Linked DNA regions of Homo sapiens: all the other regions are linked to region 1. The links are contacts of gene promoters, found by promoter capture Hi-C in blood cells and fetal thymus (Javierre and others, 2016). All regions are on one chromosome and are shown on one strand. Each heading gives the region's core, a stretch centred on a gene start or on the middle of the fragment in contact. The rest is flanking DNA. Distances are from core to core; before and after follow the strand shown. Region 1 holds the start of PLEKHG7 (pleckstrin homology and RhoGEF domain containing G7). Region 2 overlaps LOC105369896 (a long non-coding RNA gene). Region 3 overlaps LOC105369896 (a long non-coding RNA gene). Region 4 holds the start of EPYC (epiphycan). Region 5 overlaps LINC02823 (long intergenic non-protein coding RNA 2823). Region 6 overlaps LOC105369896 (a long non-coding RNA gene). Region 7 overlaps LINC02823 (long intergenic non-protein coding RNA 2823).

Region 1 (2,920 bases), core at 78-2,577:
GCTGAGCTGAGCATCAAATCTATAGGTACTTTCTTTCTTTTTTTTTTTCTTTTTAGAGATGGAGTCTGGCTCTGTCGCCCAGGCTGAGTGCAGAGGTGTGATCATATCGCACTGTAACCTCAAACTCCTAGCCTCACAGAATCCTCATGCTGCAGTGCTCCTGAGTAGTTGGGGCTATGGATGCTTACCACCCCACCCAGCTAATTTTGAATCAATAGGTACTTTCACACATACATACAATCAGGGCCGTTCTATTATTTTTCTCCTTTAGAAGACTGTCCAAGTTCTAGGCAGCAACAATGTTAAAGGAATTCAGTATATTTGCATAGGCACTTGCATAATAGTTAGATCAGATTTCTTAGTCTTTGGGTTTCCCCTCTGTCCTTCTGGCCTTTTCCTCTCCTCTTTTGAGGGGTTAGGATACGGCTTTGGGTTTCCTTTGTAGTCGTTCAGACACAGGGGTGTAGCTGCTGGTAGGAAGTTATTTATGGCCAATAGGATTCACATCGGTAAGAATTATTTATTAGCCACTGTCTTAAATATTGGAACCAAGGCAATAGTAACTGCCGACATGATGCACTGCGGAAATGGAGAAACTTTAAAAACAGCAGGGCTTAGGGAGGTGGTTTGCAGAAAGGCAGGAAGAGCTCAAGCACCAGAAGAAATGGGTCTGGTTTCTCTTCCAGTATCACCGCCAATTGGCTGTGTGACCTAGGACAAGCCACTTCTCCTCTGCCAACTGCCATGCAGCATTTACCAAGAGGACATCAAAGAACCTCCCTCACAGGCCTGTTGCAGAAATTAAATGAGATAATGGCTAAGGCTCCTGGGAAGCTTTCCCTAAATGACTACACCCAGTGGATCTGGTAGAATCAAAAGTTAACAAGTCAATCCATTCATGCTAACTCTTCTTTATGTTTAAAAGAGGAAATTAATACATGGTCACCATAAAGAAAATTCACCAACCTTTGACCTTCCAAGCTTTGAGAATCCAGCAAACACCCACCCACACTGTTGGGGAAGCCATCTCACTGTACTAGAAATGAAACCATTGCAGGTTAATGATTCACTAATTCTAATGAGACCTGGAGAGATCAGCAAAACAAGCGAAACTGATAGCAATAGGACAAAAGGAAAGTGCAAGAGAGAAACCCAGAAAGCAGCTGAATGTTGCCTTTAATACCTGTAAGATGGTCTGTCCCTGAAGGCAACTGCACCCAGGTGGGTCCCGAGGCTCCTCAGAACCCGCAGATCCAGAGTGAGCTGCCAGGCGAGGGCTCGGAGCAACAAGTTCCACACCTGTAACAATGCGTCCTCCTGGCTGAGTGAAAGCAACCTTGCTACCAGCTGCAATGAGGAACTGGTCTCTCCCCTCCTTAGAGACATTTCCAGTTATTTGTTTATGAAAAAGCCTAAAGGGAAGCCAGCTCAGAATCTAAGGCAGCCTAAGAACAAGTCAGGTAAACAACGGCTGATCAAATACAGAAATGATGCAAATGTAACTTTTTACTTCCTCTTGAGGCATTCAACAAATCATCACTCATAGTTCAGTGAAGCAGTTCTAGGTTTCTATTTCATTTATTTTCTCTAAGGTTGTGAGATGCATTCTTTGGGACTCTACTTTCTTCACATCATAAAACATTTTGTGTTGATCTATTTTATTAATGACTTGCTTTGATAAGCATTGAATAGTAGAGGAAATGATTAGAGCACCAGGGAGTGAATTTGTGAACATTAGTTTTCAAATAATTAAAATGCAAATGGAAGAGCATTTATATCTACCAGTATTCTCATTAGATCAGTACCCCAAAGAATATTTATTTGATGCCTAGGTGGAGATAATGCATATGTATGCAGCATTAAACAAAAATGTCTATAGACTTTCCCAAAACAAAGTTGAAGTAATTCTAATGAAGTCTAATTCACTGAAGTTTTCATTGATTGGACTCATTACAGATACTTACTGTGAAGGTTCCCTGAGGTCGGTAGTTCTTAAAGTAGGGTCCCTGGACCAGCAGTATCACTATGACTTGAGAACTTGTTAGAAAGGAAAAATCTTCCCCCTCCATGCTCTCCAACCCCTGGAACTCTGGGATGGGGTCAGAAGTCCGTGGTTTTTTTTTGAGACAGGGTCTCACTCTGTCACTCAGGCTGGAGTGCAGTGGCACGATCTCAGCTCACTGCAACCTCCACCTCCTGGGTTCAAGCGATTCTCCTACCTCAGCTTCCTGTGTAGCTGAGATTACAGGTGCACACCACCAGGGCCCGGCTAACTTTTGTATTTTTAGTACAGACGGGGTTTCACCATATTGGCCAGGCTGTCCGAACTCCTGACCTCAGGTGGTCCACCCACTTCGGCCTCCCAAAGTGCTGGGATTACAGGTGTGAGCCACTGTGCCCAGCCAGAAGTCTGTGTTTAACAAGACTTCCAGGTGATTCTTACATGGGTTAAAATTTGAGAACCACTGCCCTTAGAGGAAAAGAAAAAAAGGTCTAACTTATAGATGTTGGCCTTGTGATAAACTTTATATTAGTCTTTAATTCTCTCATATTGATCTTACTAGAACATCATTTACTTAGAACTTTGAAAAATGACTTGATCTCCTGCCCTCACCACCATTGCCAACATTACCATGACTCAACCAAAAGCAGGATATCAAAAAATATTTTGCCTGCATGGAGCCTGCATAAACAGTTCTGAGCTCCTGCCAAGGATGTCTAGAAGTGAATTGCTTCAATTTGGGAAGGAAAAAAATGAATAAAGTCTTTTAGCTTTTAGTTTGTGGAAGGAAGGTCATACTCTTTTCTACCAATCCCCTCACGCACATGGGATTGTAAAGCTGTCTCTCCTAGGGGATAATGATAATGGAATACTTGATCCCAATGCAAAAACTTCCAACCTCTGGTTGTAACTTCAAGA
Region 2 (2,913 bases), core at 171-2,670, 1.4 Mb after region 1:
AAGTTAACTAGAGATTAGGATTAGAAGTAGAGCCTGAAGATGTGACTGAATTGCTGCAATCTCATAATAAAACTAACAAATGAGAAGTTACTTTTTGTAGATGTTCAAAGAAAGTGGTTTCTTGAGATGGAATCTACTCCTGGTGAGGTTGCTATGAATGTTGTTGAACAGAGGACTTAGAATATTGCATAAACTTAATTGATAAAGCAGCAGCAGGGTTTGAGAATATTGACTCCAGTTTTGAAATAGTTCCACTGTGGGTAAAATGCTGCCAAACTGCATCACATGCTAGATAAATCTTTTGGGACACGAAGAGTCAATCAATGGGGCAAACTTCATTGCTGTCTCATTTTAAGAAATTTCCACAGGCATGTCAACCTTCAGCAACCCCACCCTGATTGATTAGCAGCCATCGACACTGACACAAGATCCTCCACTGGCAAATAGATTATGATTCGCTGAAGGCTCAGATGATTATCATTTTTAAGCAATACAGTATTTTAAAATTAATATATGTAGATTTTTTAGACATAGTGCAACTTCACACTTAATAGACTGTAATATAGTTTGCAAATAACTTGTATATGCACTGGAAAACTGAAAAAATTGTGCATCTCACTTTCCTGTAATATGTGCTTTAAAATGAAAATTACAATATCTCCAAGATATGCTTGTAGAACTTCCCATCATTGCTGAAAGCTCTCTTGGACAGCAGTGTTATAGATTGATCATTAATTGTAGAGAGTATAAAGAGAGTATAACACAAGGTCAGTTACATAGTGTGATAGGCTAATCCAGTGTGTAATAGCTGAAAATATTTGTTTCATAATTTGTTTGGGTTCATAAGAAAATTTACAACCAGCCATGGAAAATTATCAGGTTAATGTCTTCTTATGCCTTCTCCCACTCTGTTTCTTCTCTACTTTGGACTTCTCTAATACTTTTCACTTTTTAGAGTTCACAACAAATCTTTTTGAGTACTCTATTTATTTCCTCTTGTGTGTGTTATACAATTATACAGTTATACAAATTTTGCAGTGTCTGTTAAATGTGTACTGTACAACAGGCACTGTACCAGGCAACTAAAAAGGAAGACACAGAAGATGCTATATAATAATAAACCAGGCAGGAGCAAACACATCTCCAGAGTTCAACCGAGATAGGAATGATCTCCTCAGACCATTTGAAGTAGCAAAAGCAAGTATTATTAGCTTAACTGTGTATATGATGAGATGGAAGTTTATTCTGAGGGGTGAAGTGACTTGCCCAAAATAATACAGAAGATAGCTGGGTACAGTGGCTCATGCCTGTAATCCCAGCACTTTGGGAGGTGGGAGGATCACCTTAGGTCAGGAGTTCGAGACCAGCCTGGCCAACATGGCGAAACCCTACTAAAAATATAAAGATTACCCAGGCATGGTGGTGGGCGCCTGTAAGCCCAGCTACTCAGGAGGCTGAGGCATGAGAATTGCTTGAACCTGGGAGGGGGAGATTGCAGTGAGCCGTGATTGCGCCACTGCACTCCAGCCTGGGGGATAGGGTGAGACTCTGTCTCCCGAAAACAAAACAAACAACAACAATAAAAATACAGAAGATAAAAAACATATCTTCAAACTGGAATACATGTTTTTAACTTCAAGTCCAATATGTCCAATGCACTTTCTAATCTCTCTATTACCAACCCCATGGTAGAGATTGGTTTATGCCAACTTTCTAATTTTTTCCAACATCTTCCAAGGAACTATCGAATAAGTCGTGCCTTGTATATATATCGACATTCTCTTTTTTGTAAGTTCAATTTTTAGAATTTTCTTGAATAAAGACAGAATTATATTTGTGTTTTTTACCCAGACTTCTCTTCGGAGCTCTAAACTAAGTGGTAAAACGCTCCTGGGTTGAACTGATCTGTGCTTCCTGATGTTCCATCAATACATTGAAAATACTTTGAAATCTTAGGGGTTGTCAGAACTTAAACACAAATGAATGCTCTTTCTATATAGAAAGCAATACCATATATCTATAGAGAAAGATAATTCATTTATGTTTAAGATCCATATACATATATGCATATATATGTGTATATATATTATGCATATATATGGATCTAATTCTTGTCGATTGGCAGATGGATGGGATTACACTGTGTGCAGGCAATCGGAGCAGCGTCAGTAACCCGCAACTTTTCAGTTTGGGCACTTCCCATGACTTTCTGCATAAAAGCATGATCCGTTTAGGCACACCCAAATCCAGATGTTATCCTAATTCTGGGTCTTATATATTTTCTCTTTGCAACATTCCTTGCTTGGAAATTTGGTGGCACCACTCCATCAGTCAAGTGGCCTTAACAGAACCCTATACTGTCTCTGAACCATATTATTTGTAAATGTACCACATAAACCATATGTCACTCAGTACGGCCTCCTAAGAAAGAGTATGATAGAGAATTCCTCCCACACATACAAGTTATCAGTCAAATGTTAAGTTTTATGTTTTGAAGGGGTACTCTGTGCTACTTGCAATACTTTTAGTCCCAACTTGTATTAAAGTGAGATGGTGCTGCATTTACTTACAAAATAAACCTAGTTAGAGATTACCTTTATCTTCATCAATAGAAACTTCCAATAGTGTGGCCATCTTTCTTTTTTTATTATTATTATACTTGAAGTTCTAGGGTACATGTGCACAACGTGCAGGTTTGTTACGTATGTATACATGTGCCATGTTGGCTTGCTGCACCCATTAACTCATCATTTACATTAGGTATTTCCCCTAATGCTATCCCTCCCCCATGCCCCCACCCCATGACAGGCCCCAGTGTGTGATGTTCCCCGCCCTGTGTCCAAGTATTCTCATTGTTCAATTCCCAACTATGAGTGAGAACATGTGGTGTTTGGTTTTCTGTCCTTGCAATAG
Region 3 (3,106 bases), core at 295-2,794, 1.4 Mb after region 1:
TTCACCCTGTTGCCCAGGTTGGAGTGCAGTGGCACAATCTAGGCTCACTGAAACCTTTGCCTCCCAGGTTCAAGCAATTCTCCCACCTCAGCCTCCCTAGGACCTGGAATTACGGGTGCACCCCACCATACCTGGCTAGTTTTTTGTATTTTTTGTAGACATGGGGTTTCACCATGTTGGCCAGACTGGTCTCAAATTCCTGACCTGAAGTGATCTACCCTCCTTGGCCTCACAAAGTGCTGGGGTTACAGGCCTGAGCCACCATGCCCAGGCAAATATTTATTTTTAGAAAAAAAAATTCTTATATATTGATCTTGTAACCAACAAACTCCACAAACTATTTGTATATATTATCTATAGATTTTTTAGATTTTGTATACACCAGACAGCATAATACATAAATAAAATCAGTTTTGATTATTTATTTCCAAGAGTTATATATTTGAAAATATTTCTTGTTGAAGTAAACCTGCATATGGTAAAGTCATGAATCATAAGTATACATCTTGATTAATTATCACAAAGAGAGCAATGCAAAAATTAATTCTAGGTGAGAAAAACATGACCTGAACATATGCTGGGCTCGTCTCATTTAATTAACTGACTTATAACCCTGTAGGAAGAATTTTTATAATATTAAATTTAATATAAATGGGATCATAAATGTATTAGTCTGGGTTCTCTAGTGAAATGGAACCAATAGGAGACAGATATATCTATATCTACATATTTATAGCATTCTCTCTCTATGTATATATATATATATATATATATATATATATATACACACACACACACATATATAGACACACAGAAATATCTAGCTGTATCTATATATGGATATATATGTTTATTTATGTATCTGTATATGTGTATATGTGCTACATTTGTTAAACGAATAATAATAAATGTGTAGGTTTATTTCTGTATTCTTCATTCTGTTTCATCTGTTGATTTGTCTATTTTTGCTCTAATATTGCAACTCTTAATTAGAGTAGCTTTATAATAAGACTTACTACATAGTTCATGTTCTCTAACTTGGTTCTTCTTTACAAGCTTGTTTTGGGTGTCTCGGCCCTTTATATTCCATATAAAAGTCATGAAAATTGCTTATCTACCTTAGAAAAGAAAACTGGTTAAGAATTTTATTGGGATTGAATGGGATCTATGAATCAATTTCAGGGACTGACATTATAACAACATTAAGTCTTCTGTATCCCTCTATGTTATTAGGACTTCTTTCATTTCTGTCAGTACTATTTTTTGGTTTCTTTCACAGATGTTGCACTTTTCTAAAGATTTATTTCTTTTTTATACTATTGAAAATCTTATTAATTTTTTTCCATTTGTTTGTTGCTAGACTAAAAAATACAATGGATTTTTTTTACATATTGATGTATCTGGTGACCTTGCCAAATTTTTTTAGTAATTCTGATAGTTTTTCTTTAGATTATTTTGGATTTTCTTTTTTTTTATTATTATTATACTTTAAGTTTTAGGGTACATGTGCACAATGTTGGTGGGACTGTAAACTAGTTCAACCATTGTGGAAGTCAGTGTGGTGATTCCTCAGGGATCTAGAACTAGAAATATTTGACCCAGCCATCCCATTACTGGGTATATACCCAAAGGACTATAAATCATGCTGCTATAAAGACACATGCACACGTATGTTTATTGCAGCACTATTCACAATAGCAAAGACTTGGAACCAACCCAAATGTCCAACAATGATAGACTGTATTAAGAAAATGTGGCACATATACACCATGGAATACTATGCAGCCATAAAAATGATGAGTTCATGTCCTTTGTAGGGACATGGATGAAATTGGAAATCATCATTCTCAGTAAACTATTTTGGATTTTCTACAACATAATCAAGTTCTCCACGAATAATGAACATTTTATTTCTTTATTTCTGGTGACTATCCCTTTTGTTTCACTTACTTGCCCTTTGCATTTGCCAAGATCTCCAAAACAATGTTAAATAATTATTGTCCTTTTGTTCCAATTTCAAAGGAAAAGCTTTCAACATTTCTCCATCAACTAACATAATCACTATCAGAGTAAGAAATTTCCTTCTATTTATAGTTTGCTGAGTTTTAAAATCATAAATCCATGCTGAAATTTTTCATATGTTTTTATTCCATCTATTGACCTGTTGATATTTTTTATTTTCAATGAATTGAATTATTACACATTTTTAAATGTTAACTAATCTTGCAGTGTTTTGAGTATATGTTTTTAATGTATTGCTGAATGCAGTTTGCTGTTTTTGTTGGAGTGGAATTTTGCTTTGACAGTTATGCATAAGATTGGTTTGTACTATCATTTTACTTTAATGACTCTGTTAGGTTTTGCTATTAAGTTTATGCTGGCCTCATGAAAGAAGTTGGGAACCGTTCTTTTCTGTTATTTGATAGAGATGTTCCTTCTCTTTTTCCTTTTTCTTTTGTGGCTGATAGTAGTGTAAGTAACAGGGATTACCTAGTTTATAAAGGCAATTGTTACAGATTGATTTATTTCCTCCCAAATTTTTGTGTTTATTTCATAACCCCCAATGTGAGTGTATTTGAAGAAAGGCTCTTTGGTGAGATAATTAAGATTAAATGAGGTTATGAGGATGGGGTCCTAATCCAATAGGACTGGTGTCCTCCTAAGAAGAGGAAGATACATCAGAGATGTTTCACTACACATGCATAGAGCAGAGGCCATTGAAGACACAGCGAGAAGGTGGCCATGTGCAAGCCAGGAAGGGAGGCTTCTCTAAAATCCAAACTTGATAGGATCTTGGTCTTATCTTTAACAGATAAATTTCTGTTGTTTAAGCTACCTAATTTGTGGTCCTGTGCTATGGAAGCCTGAGCAGACTAATATAGTTATTAAGAAATAAGATGTAGGCTGGGGGCAGTGGCTTATGCCTGTAATCCCAGCACTTTGGGAGGCCGAGGCGGGCAGATCACGAGGTCAGGAGATCGAGACCATCCTGGCTAACACAGTGAAACCCCATCTCTACTAAAAATACAAAAAAAAAAATTAGCCGGGCACGGTGGCGGGCGACGGTAGTCCCAGCTACTCTGGAGGTTGAGGCAGGAGAATGGTG
Region 4 (3,184 bases), core at 78-2,577, 1.7 Mb after region 1:
TCAGGCATCTTTCCAGCACTGCTTCTAAAAGTGGCCTTTATATGGTGGGGTGAGACTTCACAGATGCCAGAAATAAGTTCCTGTCTCCAAGATGGCCTCTCTATTTTTTGAGAGGTCTTGGTAGACTTCATACATTACCCATTATCACTGTTTCTGCTCCAAATAAAATTGTTTTTGAGAAAAACAATGCATACTAAGAACAAATCATTTGGAAACAGGGTTGGATGATGGGGATGACAAATAAGAATGCCCTGAATAGATGGGCAAAGACATTTTGAGGGCAGGGAAGATGGGAGCAGAGGCAGGAAGGGGAGTGAGAGAACCTTAAAGACAAACCTTCTTCTCTCCCATCACTTGGCCCAGGAGTAATACCGCTTTCAAAATTCAATACATCTATTCACTTGCAGACATGAAGGAAAAGATTCCTGAAGCATAAGTGAGAACCAAATTCCTAGATTTATCTAAAGCATACCAGAATACAAGATGCAACTTTCACCTTTCTCTAGGACTTATACAATGTAAAATTGAGGTATGGAAATTTAAAGCATATTTTTTCTCTTCATATTTGTATTAAAGTTCAATTTTACAAACCATGGAAGTTAACAAGAGCTTAAAATAAAGCTCCTATTCTAAGGAAAAAATGTGTAATTTGATTTATTTGTCTATGATAGATACAATAACTTTTTTTAAAAAAAGCCCCTTTTCTCCCCAAAACACGCAGATCATATTTATGCATCACTTCTGGATGTAATTTTTTTAAAGTTATGCAAAAGGTTCATTTTTCCCTGTTTTGCTATCAAAGCATTCCATGCAATCAAAATAATTGGGATATCTTTTTTTACTTACCCAATATTAAACAGGTAAGGTTTCTGCAACATTTACCAAATTTCACTTAACATTAATGAAAAGTGAAGAAAGCAATTCAAGACTTCAAGTTTTGGGAAAATTATTTCTTATTAGAACTAAAATATCCATCTATAGTATCACTGTATACATGAACTTCATTTCTTAATTGGTGAGTTTGTTACAGATGAGGTATGTTAAATCCAACTTTTTCCATTTAAAAATTTTAAGGTGATACTTTGGCAATTATAACTCCATTAACATAATTTCAAGAACTTTGTATACTATGTGATTTGGATCCTACTGCTTAGTTTGGGTGACTATAAAATAATTTGAGGTTTTTTAAAGACTGAGAAGTATTTCTCAATATTAGGTTTTGCAAACAGAAAGTTGAGTGTTATAAATTCCACCTCCCACAGACCAGAATTCACAGCCATTGGTCAGGGGCAAATACCACTAGCTCTGCATCCTCAGTCACTTTGTGCCATTTCATCAGGTCAGAGCCAAAGGTAAGTTTTTATACTTGCTTTCTTCTTGGGTCAGAGTTCTTTCCCTACTATAACAACCTTTAAAAAATAATTTAACTTGCCTTAATGTCATCTGGTGAATTTTGATTCAATGGATTTGGTTTATTTTTGTTATTGACTTTGTATTTATATTATTCTTGGAAAATCCAAAATTTTGAATTAGCTTAGGAATTAATAACATACAGCAAATAGTTAATCTCAGTAGTCATGACAGATGCCAATAAAATTAGAGTAGTTTCCAATATATGCCTTAAGTAAAGTTTCCTGACACAGACCACATTCTTTGCCAGTATAGACAGGCACTATTGATTGATATTAATTGAAATTTTGTGAAAAGGGAGGAAATAGTGAAATTTCCTGAGATTAAAAGTATTGTAATGATTACATGACATTATGCATTTAAAATTTTTTTGAGCTATATATTGAAAGTTTTAAATACACAAATTTTAAAATATTAATAAATGGTATAAAGTGAACACAAAATTAAAGTGTTAATTAAGAAACTACATTAAATGCTAATACAATTACTTGAAGAAAGGAATATAAATTTTTTAACTAAACATAGATAGATGCTGTATATATTTTTAAGATTCACACAGCCTGCCTTATAGTTGATAGCTCTAGGAGTGATGCAAAATGCAAGCAAATTCTGAGATGTAGCTATATGTAATCAAATATAGTATGATGTGAGAAAAAAGGCCAGCAAGTGTATAATTTCTTTGAATAATGGAAGTTGCCAGAAACATATAAGGAAAAATTTTTTTTAAGTTGGTAGTGGCTTCTGTTAATGTTTCCAACTTGATTATGGGAGAATGGTTCCTGGAAGATTTGCAAACCCACTGTTTTATTAAGTAGGACTTTGTTGGTAATTGCCTAGAACAGTTCCAAATCTGCAATCCTGCAAAGACTTCTGCAAAGGCAACTGAAATAGAGGCTTAGTTTATCCTGTGTGAATAAGAAATTTATTTGAAGAAAGCATAGGAGAGCTAAGAAGGAGCTCCTTGTACTGCTTCTTATTCTCAGAGGAATTTCATATCCTTCTGCCTAAACCTGCTTCATAAAGGCTTTCTTTCAAGTAACTGAAGGTCATTTTGTCTGCCAGTGCATTCAAGTTTAAAAGTAATATTTATCATGAATTCCCTTTTATATGTATGCATAGGTAGTAACACCACAGGTACTGTTCTTAAAGTAAACCCAAGAAGTGTGTCCAAATGTAAAAGCCTCTAAAATTAGACATGCTTGATACAGAATTTTACAATACTTTGCCTGCTCAATAAGGGATCACTAGGTAACATTTTGGTAAGACTAACTTAAATGTTTCAAATTAAATGTGAAGATTTTTTTTCTAAACCAAAATGTATTCAAATGAGTACATACAGAACTAAAAAAATAATTAAATTATAGGATCTTGATTGAATCCTCAAAAAGCATAATGTTATAATGGAAAATAAGAATTGTGCTTATTAAGGAATTAAAAAACAAAGATGGCTATAATCCCACAGGCATACAAGGGAATCTTACCAAATAGTGCCTTTTAAACATGTATTCCTGTTGGTTCTGAGTTCAAATCTTAGATAGCTATTAAGAATTAAATAAAATACTGAGGACTAAAGGAAATTTTTTTTCTATTCTATTTCATTAGGAGCATTTTGAACAATATTGCATGAAATACTAACGTACATATTAAACAATGTATGTATTTATATGTCCAGAGGCTACAAAGAAGTAACAGAAAAAACAAACAAAACTTTGTTACTTTGTTCTGAAGAAGGCCTTAGACTTAAATGTACAAGAAACAGTTATGAGTCCTATTT
Region 5 (2,899 bases), core at 128-2,627, 1.3 Mb after region 1:
AGCCAGCACTGTTTTTTTTGTGTGTGTAATTCAACTAAACTGACCTCTATTCCCTGCTTTAACATAATGATAATACAAATTCAATCATGGCAGTAGCTTCCATTTATTAAGCACTTACGGAATACTCACCACTCAGCTAGGCAGTTTTTTAACGTTATCTCATTTGACTTTGACAACTAAGTTCAAAGCTCTTATCCTCTTCTCAGATGAGGAAACTGAGGCTCAGAGAGGTAAGATAACTTGCCAAACTCAGACAGCCATTAATTGAAGAACTGCTGTTAGGTCCTAAATGCCTGACTGTAAAGTTCATGTTCATTCCACTCTACCACACAGCATTGTAAACAATTTTTTCATAAATTCACTTAACATATATTAACTTGTTTAGTTGATATATTTATTTAAGATGTGTGTGTGTGTGTATGTGAAAGAGAGAGTGACAAAGGCTTATTATATGCCAGGGACAAATATAGATTCATGCATTCAGTCACAAAATATTTATTGAACACCTACTATTTACCATGCATATGTTGAGTGCTGGTAATATAATAGTTGGCATAAAAGACCCACTCCTTGCTGTCAGTGTGATTAGAGCCAAACAGGGTAGAGGGACATTAATCATATTAATATTAATGTATGCAAATTTCAAGCTAAGATATACTTTTGTAGAAATGACAGTTCAAGTTTGCATATTATAATGATTTGAGTGCTCTTTAAGATTCAAAAAGCGTTTCTTCTAAGATGTGCTGCTTCACCTGAGGTCTGAAGGATGAATACAAACTAAATGTGTGTGTTTAGAGGAGGGAGTGCCAGAGGCAAGCAAGTAGGTGAGAGGAGTGTTGCAGATGGCTGGGCAGCACACGCAAATGGCCTGTGGTAGCAGGGAAAAATGCACAGTGAAAGAGGAAGAGGGAAAAGCAGTAGTGTGGAGTTAAATGTGACTGGAGAAGTAGGTAGATAATGGAGAAAATTACTATGCAGCCTTGACCATTGTGCAATGTGAATAGTTTCACCAAATGTCATGGCTCCAGAACTCTTCATCTGCATCTAGATACTGTAAAGGAAACTCTTCCTACAGTGATGGGGGAAAGGAAAGTTAATATACACCCAGTTCAATTTCTGTAACACAATCTTAAAGCAAACTGGACACTGAAAAATTTACCCACACCTTTCTACTCTTACATCCCCCTTGAAGTAGAGATCAGGAACAAACCAGTCTTCCTGAATGGTAAAAATAAGTGGAAATCCAGAGGCAGTATTTCTGGTGTCAATATAAGAATATGATGGAATAAATCAAATGTTATAAACAAATTCTGGTTAAACATGTGAACACTTCCTCCTTGACACCTTGTTCCACAGCGCTCACAGAGAGTGAATGAAAGTAGTGCATGAATTCAGCACCTGCAACTGAAATATACAGGTTCTCACATTGGGCCTGACTAGGCAAATAACTCGACCCACGGAGAACAAAGAAAAGCAGGGGGTTGGTGACAGTCCACCCAGGAGCAGTGCTGAACCTAAGGAATTCCCACCCCCAGCCAAAGAGGGACCATTAGGAGTACAAAATGCAAAGGAGGAAGTGTTCACATGTTTAGCCAGAATTTGTTTATAACAGTTGATTTATTCCATCATTAACAATCCTCATCTCTCTGGTTCCGAAGATTAGAGATTTGTGCACAACTAACCCCAAGGGTTTGTTGCAACAAACAGATTCCAGATCAGGTAGACTCTGATAATAATATCTATTGGATGTGGAGACATGGGTCTAGCATTTAGAATCAATTGATAGCTTCTGCCAATTTGGGCCAAAAACCCTGACCCAGATTTATTGTAAAGCACTCTTCCTGAACAAGTTAGCAAAACCAGGAGGTGGTGTGCACAGAACAGCACAGTTTCTTTCCCACTTATCTTGTTCTAAATCCTAAACTTCTTAATATTCCATTGCACTAATAACTTCTGGATGGCTCCAATCTGCAGCCAAGACTTTACACTCTTGGAACCTAACCTGACTCTTCTGCCCTTTGCCTGGAAGTTCTTGCCTGTCATCATTTTTATCAGTTCAGGGTCAGTTCATTGTTACTCTTCCTTCTCTCATATCCTTAACTTAGTAGAGCAGATTTGACTAGTTGTCCTCTGAGTATCCATTCTCTACTTTTTTTTTAGTAATAGAACTTAAAGTAATTTGAGTCAACAATGTTCACAGCTAACAGACTGTCTTTCCTAGCATCCCTTTCAGCCAGGTACATATGACTAACTTTTGGCCAGTAGTATTAAGTTTTTGGTAACAATTTTCAGTGAAGCATCGTGGAAAAAAAATTCGTGTGCAGCTAGGAAAGTCTGATTTCCCTCTCTATTCCTTCTTCTTCCTATGTTGGAATATAGATGTGATGCCAGGGTCTGAGTTCCCCGTTTTGAACTGGAAGGTGACCATGAGGATAGAAGCCACACACAAAAGATGATAAAAGAGAAGATAGAGGAAGACTCTATGGGGATAATTTAGGAGCCCTGGGCTTTATCTCTGGATTTATTTTGCGTAAGGAAGAATTGCATTTCTTCCTTGATAGACAATTTTCTTTTCCAGTCTTTGTTTCAAATTACACAACTCATGACTTATATACTGAAAGGATGGGAAGTGATCTAATTCAGTGAAAGTCATACCTGGTGAGGGACTATCTCTGTGGGTACAAGTTGGAGGCACCTCAGGCTTTGGCTTACAGAACGGTATAGAGCCACTTTTCATTCTCAGAAATATGTACCATCCCTTTGGAATCCCTGATTTTTCTCACCTCCTCCCTGAGAATAATTTCACTATTTTGAATACGGTATTTTCAGGAAGGCCCATAGGCTGGGCCAGCTATGGCTGCCTTTCATTGCCATTTGGTTATCTGATTAAGCATTGGTG
Region 6 (3,040 bases), core at 118-2,617, 1.4 Mb after region 1:
CACAAATTCACTAATACAAGTGGCTTCTCTAAAAACTCCTGGAGTAAAATGAAAATTTAAGTGGAAAACAAAATGCAATTTGATTTAGTAACAGTAGAAGGAGTCAAGAATTTGAGATATTTTGCAGTCTGAAAAACAGATTTTCAGTTTTTAAGAGTAGACAGTATTGGCAATACTATTTAGCCCACAATTGAAAGGAGGGAAATTGAATGTCATTTTTCACTGAATTTCCACAGAATTTCATGGTATATCTTCTTTAAACAAAGTAAAAAGGCATCTCCATGATTTATTTTCTGATCTTACTTAATCAAGTTTTAACAAGAGGTTTTCAGGAATGTGAAGACTCCTTATTTCTGTGGAAGAACTCCATTTATTCAGTTGTTCTTGCAGTCCTAGAATAAGGGCACACTGAACTCCTCCATGCCAGAAAATGAACCTGACATTGTGGGTGTATGATTATCATCCCTATCCTGGAGGAATTCATAACTTGAGGGGGAAGTCAGGTATGTAGTGAGATGGGTAAAATGCAATCTGATACATGCTAAATAGAATTCTGAACAGTACTGTGGAGACAAAAATGAAGAACAGCTATTGCCTAAAGGACTTTTCAGAGCTTGTGACACTTGAGTGGCGTCTTAAAGGATGAGTTAGGATTCACCAAACAGAACAGAATTAGAAAGGCTTTGCCACAAAAGAAACAGCATATTCAAATGCAAAAGAGTATGAGGAAGGCATCTCTTTTTGGGGGAGAGCAATGCTGGCAGAATGTTGGTTAGAAGATCAGAATGATAGAGAGAAATGCATTTGGAGAGACTTTCCTAACATTATTATTTTATAACACTAAGATCTTTAGCCTTTTTCTTGTAGTTGTTAAGGAAACATCAAAATTATTTAAAGAGAAAAGTGAGAAGCTTGGATTCTTGTATTTGAAAAAATAACTTTGGCAGAATGTGTTGGAAGGGTTAGTGTTATGAGGAAAACTACAGATAAAAAGTCTGGAGAGAAGTCTACTGTATTATTCAGAAGAAACATAAAAATAGCCAAAGCAAGCTAGTGATCATTGAGAAAAGGAAGAAAGTAGGGTTCAGATTGAGCGTTTTTCTCTAGGACTCTTCAAATCATTGACTGCAGAGGAATGGTAGGAGGCAGATTCATTTGGGCAACAGGTTGGATTGAGCATTTTAGGTGGAATTTCACTAGCTTGACCAATCCTTGTTGCATCAGGAGAGTCATAGAAGGAATCTGTGCTTGAACCTTGGGATACTTTGGGACCATTGCAACTTCAAAAGCCTGTAATTTAAAATAATATTATTTTATGCCTTTCTTTGTAATTTTGATCATTGTTGGTTTACAGTTGGTTTTGTCTCAAATAAGAACAGAAACCCCTGCTCTTTTTTGCTTTCCATTTGTCTGATAGATCTTTCTCTATCCCTTTACTTTAAGCCTATGGATGTCCTTGCATGTAAGATGGTTCTCTTGAAGACAGCATACAGTGGGGCCTTGCTTCTTTATCCAACTTGCCACTCTGTGCCTTTTAAGTGGGATGTTTAACCTATTTACATTAAAGGTTAACATGAGTATGTGTGAATTTGATCCTTTTATTGTGTTGTTAGCTGGTTATTATGTAGACTTGATTGTATATTTTCTTTCTAGTTTCAATAGTCTATGTATTTAAGTGTGTTTTTGTGGTGGCAGGTACCAGTCTTTCATTTCTGTGTTTAGTATGGAAATGACCTCTTGTAAGGCAGGTCTAGTGGTATTGAATTCCCTTAGTGTTTCCTTGTCTGAAAAAGATTTTATTTCTCCTTAGCTTATGAAGCTTAGTTTAGCCAGATATAAAATTTTCAGTTGGAATTTTTTTCTTTAAGGATGCTGAACATAGGCCCCCAATCTCTTCTGACTTTTAGAGTTTCTATTGAAAGGTCCACTGTTAGCCTGCTGGAGTTCCCTTTGTAGGTGAACTTCTCCTTCTGCTTACTTGTCTTTAATATTTTTTCTTTCACATTGGTCTTGGAGACTCTGATGACTACCTGTCTTGGGGATGGTTCAACTCAAAAAGAAGACTGAACTATTCTAAATATATATGCACCCAACACTGAGCACCCAGATTCATAAAACACATTCTTACATACCTACAAAGAGACTTATATAACCACACAATAATTATGGGAGACTTTAATACCCAACTGACAGTATTGGACAGATCATTGAGGCAGAATACTAACAAAGATATATGGAACCTAAACACAACAGTTGACCAAATGGAGCTAACAGACATGTACAGAACATTTGACTCAACAAAAACAGAATATACATTCTTCTCAATTGCACATGGCACATATTCTAAAATTGACTGCACACTCAGCAAGAAAGCAATTCTTAACAAATTTAAAAAAGAAAACCCTGAAATCATATGAACCATCCTCTTGGAACACAGTGCAATAAAAAGAGAAGTTAATACCAAATATCTCTCTCAAAACCATACAATTAAATGAAAATTACACAATCTGCTCCTGAATGACTTTTGGGTAAACCATGACATTAAGGCAGAAATCAATAAATTAGTCGAAACTAATGAAAGCAAAGATACAACATACCAGAACAATAAAGCAGTGTTAAAAGTTTTTATTTTATTTTATTTTATTTTATTTTAAAGTTCTGGGGTACTTGTGGAGGATGTGCAGGTTTGTTACATAGATAAATGTGTGCCATGGTGGGTTGCTGCACCTATCAACCCATCACCCAGCAATTAAGCCCAGCATGCATTAGCTATTTTTCTTAATGCTCTCCTTCCCCAACCACACGTGACAGGCCCCAGTGTGTGTTGTTCCCCTCCCCGTGTCCATATGTTCTCATTGTTCAGTTCCCACTTATAAGTGAGAACATGTGTTTAGTTTTCTGTTCTTGCATTAGTTTTCTGAGAATAATGGCTTCTTGCTCCATCTATGTCCCTGCAAAGGACATGATCTCATTTCTTTTTATGGCTACATAGTATTCCATGGCATATATGTACCATATTTTGTTTATCCAATCTATCGTT
Region 7 (2,900 bases), core at 141-2,640, 1.4 Mb after region 1:
GTTTAAATGTCACCTTATTATTATAACTTAATTTCCAATCCTCTTATTTAAATAGCACTCCCCCTGCCCCATCAACCTATAACCCTGTTATTTGCTTTTTTTTTCTTCATAACATCTGTAACCACCTATATATGTTTTGTTCACTGTTGTATTCCCAATGTTTAGAACAGTGTCTGGAGCTCTACAGGGGCTTGATTTATATGTGCTAAATAGAAAAATAATTTGAACAATTATATCTATTATCCAGTGAAATCTTCTCAGTGTATCTCAAATACTACAGTGATACTTACTGAGTATGTTATTAGAATAAATGGAATAGGGTGGTTTTGAAGGATGTTTGACCTAGGTTTAAAACTTTTTTTATTTTTTGAAGATGTTTTTCTTCAAAAGATAATATTTCTCTCCTTATTATATAGTTCATTCTCATTGTGTAATCAAAAAATCTGCTTTAGAGAATTCTGATAAATTTTTCTTTTTAAATATTCTACTTAAGTCCTTATGATGTGTCTCGATGTCTTCATTAAGATTTCCACTTCATTTTGGAGTATAATTGTTGTTTGGGAGCCTACTGTGCTTTATAATCAATTAACATCTTAAAGCAACTATGTGGCACGGGAGCCCTCTGCCTGACACAGGTTCTGACAGACTAACTTTGTATTGGTTTTTCTAACCTTCTTGACGTATTCGGTTGTAGGTAACATCAGTTGCCATTTGTTGGGAGCTCCTCATTAGGTATGGCCTCCCTGGAGACATCCACCTGGCAGAATGAAGATAGAGAGGGAGTAGTTTGAGGTGTAAATCCTAGAGGCTTTATTGACTTCTTTTTATGTATTTACACAAAGGGAATAGGGTTTATGTCCTAAAGTGCAACTTATGGTAAAAAGCTTTCACAAAATTTTAGAGGAACTAAATCTTTCCTCACAAAATCACCATTTATAAGCCTTATGTGTTAATTGGTTCAGGCTGTTACAACAACTTGCCGTAGGCTAGATGACTTAAACAACAAACATTTATCTATCACAGTTCTGGAGGCTGGGAAGAGTCAAGGAAGCTGTCAGGTCAGTTGTTCGGTGAGGGCCTGCTGAGTGTTAACATAAAGAAGATCCATAAACTCTATTACATTATGGAGAATATTAAAACATCTTAATCTAAGCACACCCTAATCACAAACAAAGATAATCAAGGATGTTTTGTTAGTTAAGAGTTTTTGGCTTCAAGGAGCAGAGACCCACCTTTATTTCTCAATTAATGGAGGTTTTGTGCTAAGGATACATATAAAATCAGGAGAAAGAAATTTTACTGAAATAAGAAAATAAGGAATACTTGAGTTTTATGATAGCACTAATGCAGAACTGGAGGGTAATTCAACATCAAAGTCATCACAAATTCATTTTACTCCATGTTCTTACTCAAGTCCTCTCTATTCCTCTTCCCATTGCTCTTGAACCTTACCTTCCTGGGTTAAACCACACATAGTCATCATATATTACTGGATTTGACTTGCTAAAATTTGGGTAGCATATCTATCTATTTTTGCATATTTATTCATGAAAAATATTGGTATGTAATGTTCTTTTATGTTAACATTTTTGTCTGGTTTTGATATCTGTATAATTCCACTAATACATCATGACCAGGTAGTAATTATCCTGGATGTAAGGTTGTTTTAACATTCAAAAATGTATCAGATAAAATCACCATATTATAAACTGAAAGGAACAAACCAAATCAACACTATTATTAATGAGATAAAGCATTTGAAAAAAATCCAACATTCATTCCTGACAATATGTCAACAAAGTAGAAATGGCAGGTAACTTTCTCAACCTGATAAAGTTCAGATATAAAAAAATATACAACTAATATCTTGTTTAATAGTGAAAGACTTAAAGCTTTCTCCCAAGATTAGGAAAAATACAAAGGTGTCTGGTCTTATCAATTTTGTTTAACATTAAAACAGAGGCCCTAGCCAGTGCAATAAGATAAAGAAATTAAAACTAAAGGCACTCATGTCACTAAGAAATAAGTAAAACTTTATTCAAACATTTTATAAAAAATGTAATGAAATATATAAAATGATATTAGAACCTATGAGTTTGACAAACTTATAGATTATATAAAAATCAGTTATATTTCTATATGTTAGCAACCAACAATCAAAAATTAAAAATAAAAAATTGTACCATATGTATTAACAGCAAAAATATGAAGTTATTAAGGAAAAATCTGATAAAACACCAAAAAAATCTGTGCACTGAAAACTGCCTAAAATTGCAGACAGAAATTACTGAAGGTCTAAGTATACTGAGACCCATACTATACCCATGGGTCTTTAGTACTAGTTTTTGTTTTGTTTTGATTTGGCAGAAAATGAAAAAAAAATTTCTAAAATTCACAGGGAAATGCAGTAATCTAGAGAAGCCAAAACATCTTTGAAATAGAAGAACCAAGTGGGAGGACTAACACTATCTAATATCAAGACTTCTTATAATGTGATTTTAATCAAGGCAATGTTGTATTTGTACAAATATTAGAAATAGATCAATGGAATAAAACAGAGATTCCAAAAATAGAGCTACACGTATATGGACAGTGATATTCTTTAAAAGGTGTAAAAGCAGGTCAAAGGAGAAAGAATCATATTCTCATTAGATGATGTTGGAATAATCAAATAATATGCAGAAGATAAAACAAAGCAAAACACATGAAAATGTCATCATAACATAAAATCAATGTCAATTCATTATTTGAACATAACACAAAATGGATATTAGACCTAAATATGAAATTTAATACTATACAATTTCTAGAAGAGAACACAGGATTCTCTGGGCTAGGATTTACTAGATACAACATCAAGAGCATGGCCTATAATAAAGTCAGAATTCACCAAAATTAAA

The links. Contacts are between HindIII fragments. The CHiCAGO score rates a contact against its expected background, and 5 or more counts as called.
Region 2: a contact is called between a fragment that was not itself captured here and the fragment with the promoter of PLEKHG7 in region 1, in 6 of 17 cell types (non-activated CD4 T cells, activated CD4 T cells, total CD8 T cells and 3 more). The highest score is 8.9, in non-activated CD4 T cells.
Region 3: a fragment that was not itself captured here is called in contact with the fragment with the promoter of PLEKHG7 in region 1 in 4 of 17 cell types (activated CD4 T cells, total CD4 T cells, naive CD4 T cells and 1 more); the score reaches 6.6 in activated CD4 T cells.
Region 4: a contact is called between the fragment with the promoter of EPYC here and the fragment with the promoter of PLEKHG7 in region 1, in 1 of 17 cell types (total CD4 T cells). The highest score is 5.4, in total CD4 T cells.
Region 5: a contact is called between a fragment that was not itself captured here and the fragment with the promoter of PLEKHG7 in region 1, in 10 of 17 cell types (naive CD8 T cells, total CD8 T cells, activated CD4 T cells and 7 more). The highest score is 13.1, in naive CD8 T cells.
Region 6: a fragment that was not itself captured here is called in contact with the fragment with the promoter of PLEKHG7 in region 1 in 5 of 17 cell types (activated CD4 T cells, non-activated CD4 T cells, naive CD4 T cells and 2 more); the score reaches 10.4 in activated CD4 T cells.
Region 7: a contact is called between a fragment that was not itself captured here and the fragment with the promoter of PLEKHG7 in region 1, in 6 of 17 cell types (non-activated CD4 T cells, total CD4 T cells, activated CD4 T cells and 3 more). The highest score is 14.7, in non-activated CD4 T cells.

What each region holds. Positions count from the first base shown.
Region 1 is chr12:92,701,396-92,704,315 of GRCh38, reverse strand. PLEKHG7 (pleckstrin homology and RhoGEF domain containing G7) reads right to left here and starts at 1,327. Exons shown (of 17, transcript NM_001377329.1): 1 at 1,184-1,327. RefSeq lists an enhancer at 1,127-1,186. The HindIII fragment of the contact is 11,169 bases long and covers 984-2,920 here.
Region 2 is chr12:91,320,511-91,323,423 of GRCh38, reverse strand. All of the region lies in intron 8 of LOC105369896 (a long non-coding RNA gene), which reads left to right. Among named protein-coding and RNA genes, the nearest start is that of LINC02823, 5.0 kb to the left of the region's middle. The HindIII fragment of the contact is 6,024 bases long and covers 1-2,913 here.
Region 3 is chr12:91,281,530-91,284,635 of GRCh38, reverse strand. All of the region lies in intron 8 of LOC105369896 (a long non-coding RNA gene), which reads left to right. Among named protein-coding and RNA genes, the nearest start is that of LINC02823, 44 kb to the left of the region's middle. The HindIII fragment of the contact is 972 bases long and covers 1,059-2,030 here.
Region 4 is chr12:91,003,115-91,006,298 of GRCh38, reverse strand. EPYC (epiphycan) reads left to right here and starts at 1,327. Exons shown (of 7, transcript NM_004950.5): 1 at 1,327-1,352. The HindIII fragment of the contact is 5,756 bases long and covers 1-3,184 here.
Region 5 is chr12:91,358,937-91,361,835 of GRCh38, reverse strand. The region is part of intron 2 of LINC02823 (long intergenic non-protein coding RNA 2823); the gene reads right to left. All of the region lies in intron 7 of LOC105369896 (a long non-coding RNA gene), which reads left to right. Among named protein-coding and RNA genes, the nearest start is that of LINC02823, 33 kb to the right of the region's middle. The HindIII fragment of the contact is 8,216 bases long and covers 1-2,899 here.
Region 6 is chr12:91,302,048-91,305,087 of GRCh38, reverse strand. All of the region lies in intron 8 of LOC105369896 (a long non-coding RNA gene), which reads left to right. Among named protein-coding and RNA genes, the nearest start is that of LINC02823, 23 kb to the left of the region's middle. The HindIII fragment of the contact is 908 bases long and covers 914-1,821 here.
Region 7 is chr12:91,337,404-91,340,303 of GRCh38, reverse strand. It overlaps LINC02823 (long intergenic non-protein coding RNA 2823), which reads right to left. Exons shown (of 4, transcript NR_183611.1): 2 at 672-757. All of the region lies in intron 8 of LOC105369896 (a long non-coding RNA gene), which reads left to right. Among named protein-coding and RNA genes, the nearest start is that of LINC02823, 12 kb to the right of the region's middle. The HindIII fragment of the contact is 1,008 bases long and covers 887-1,894 here.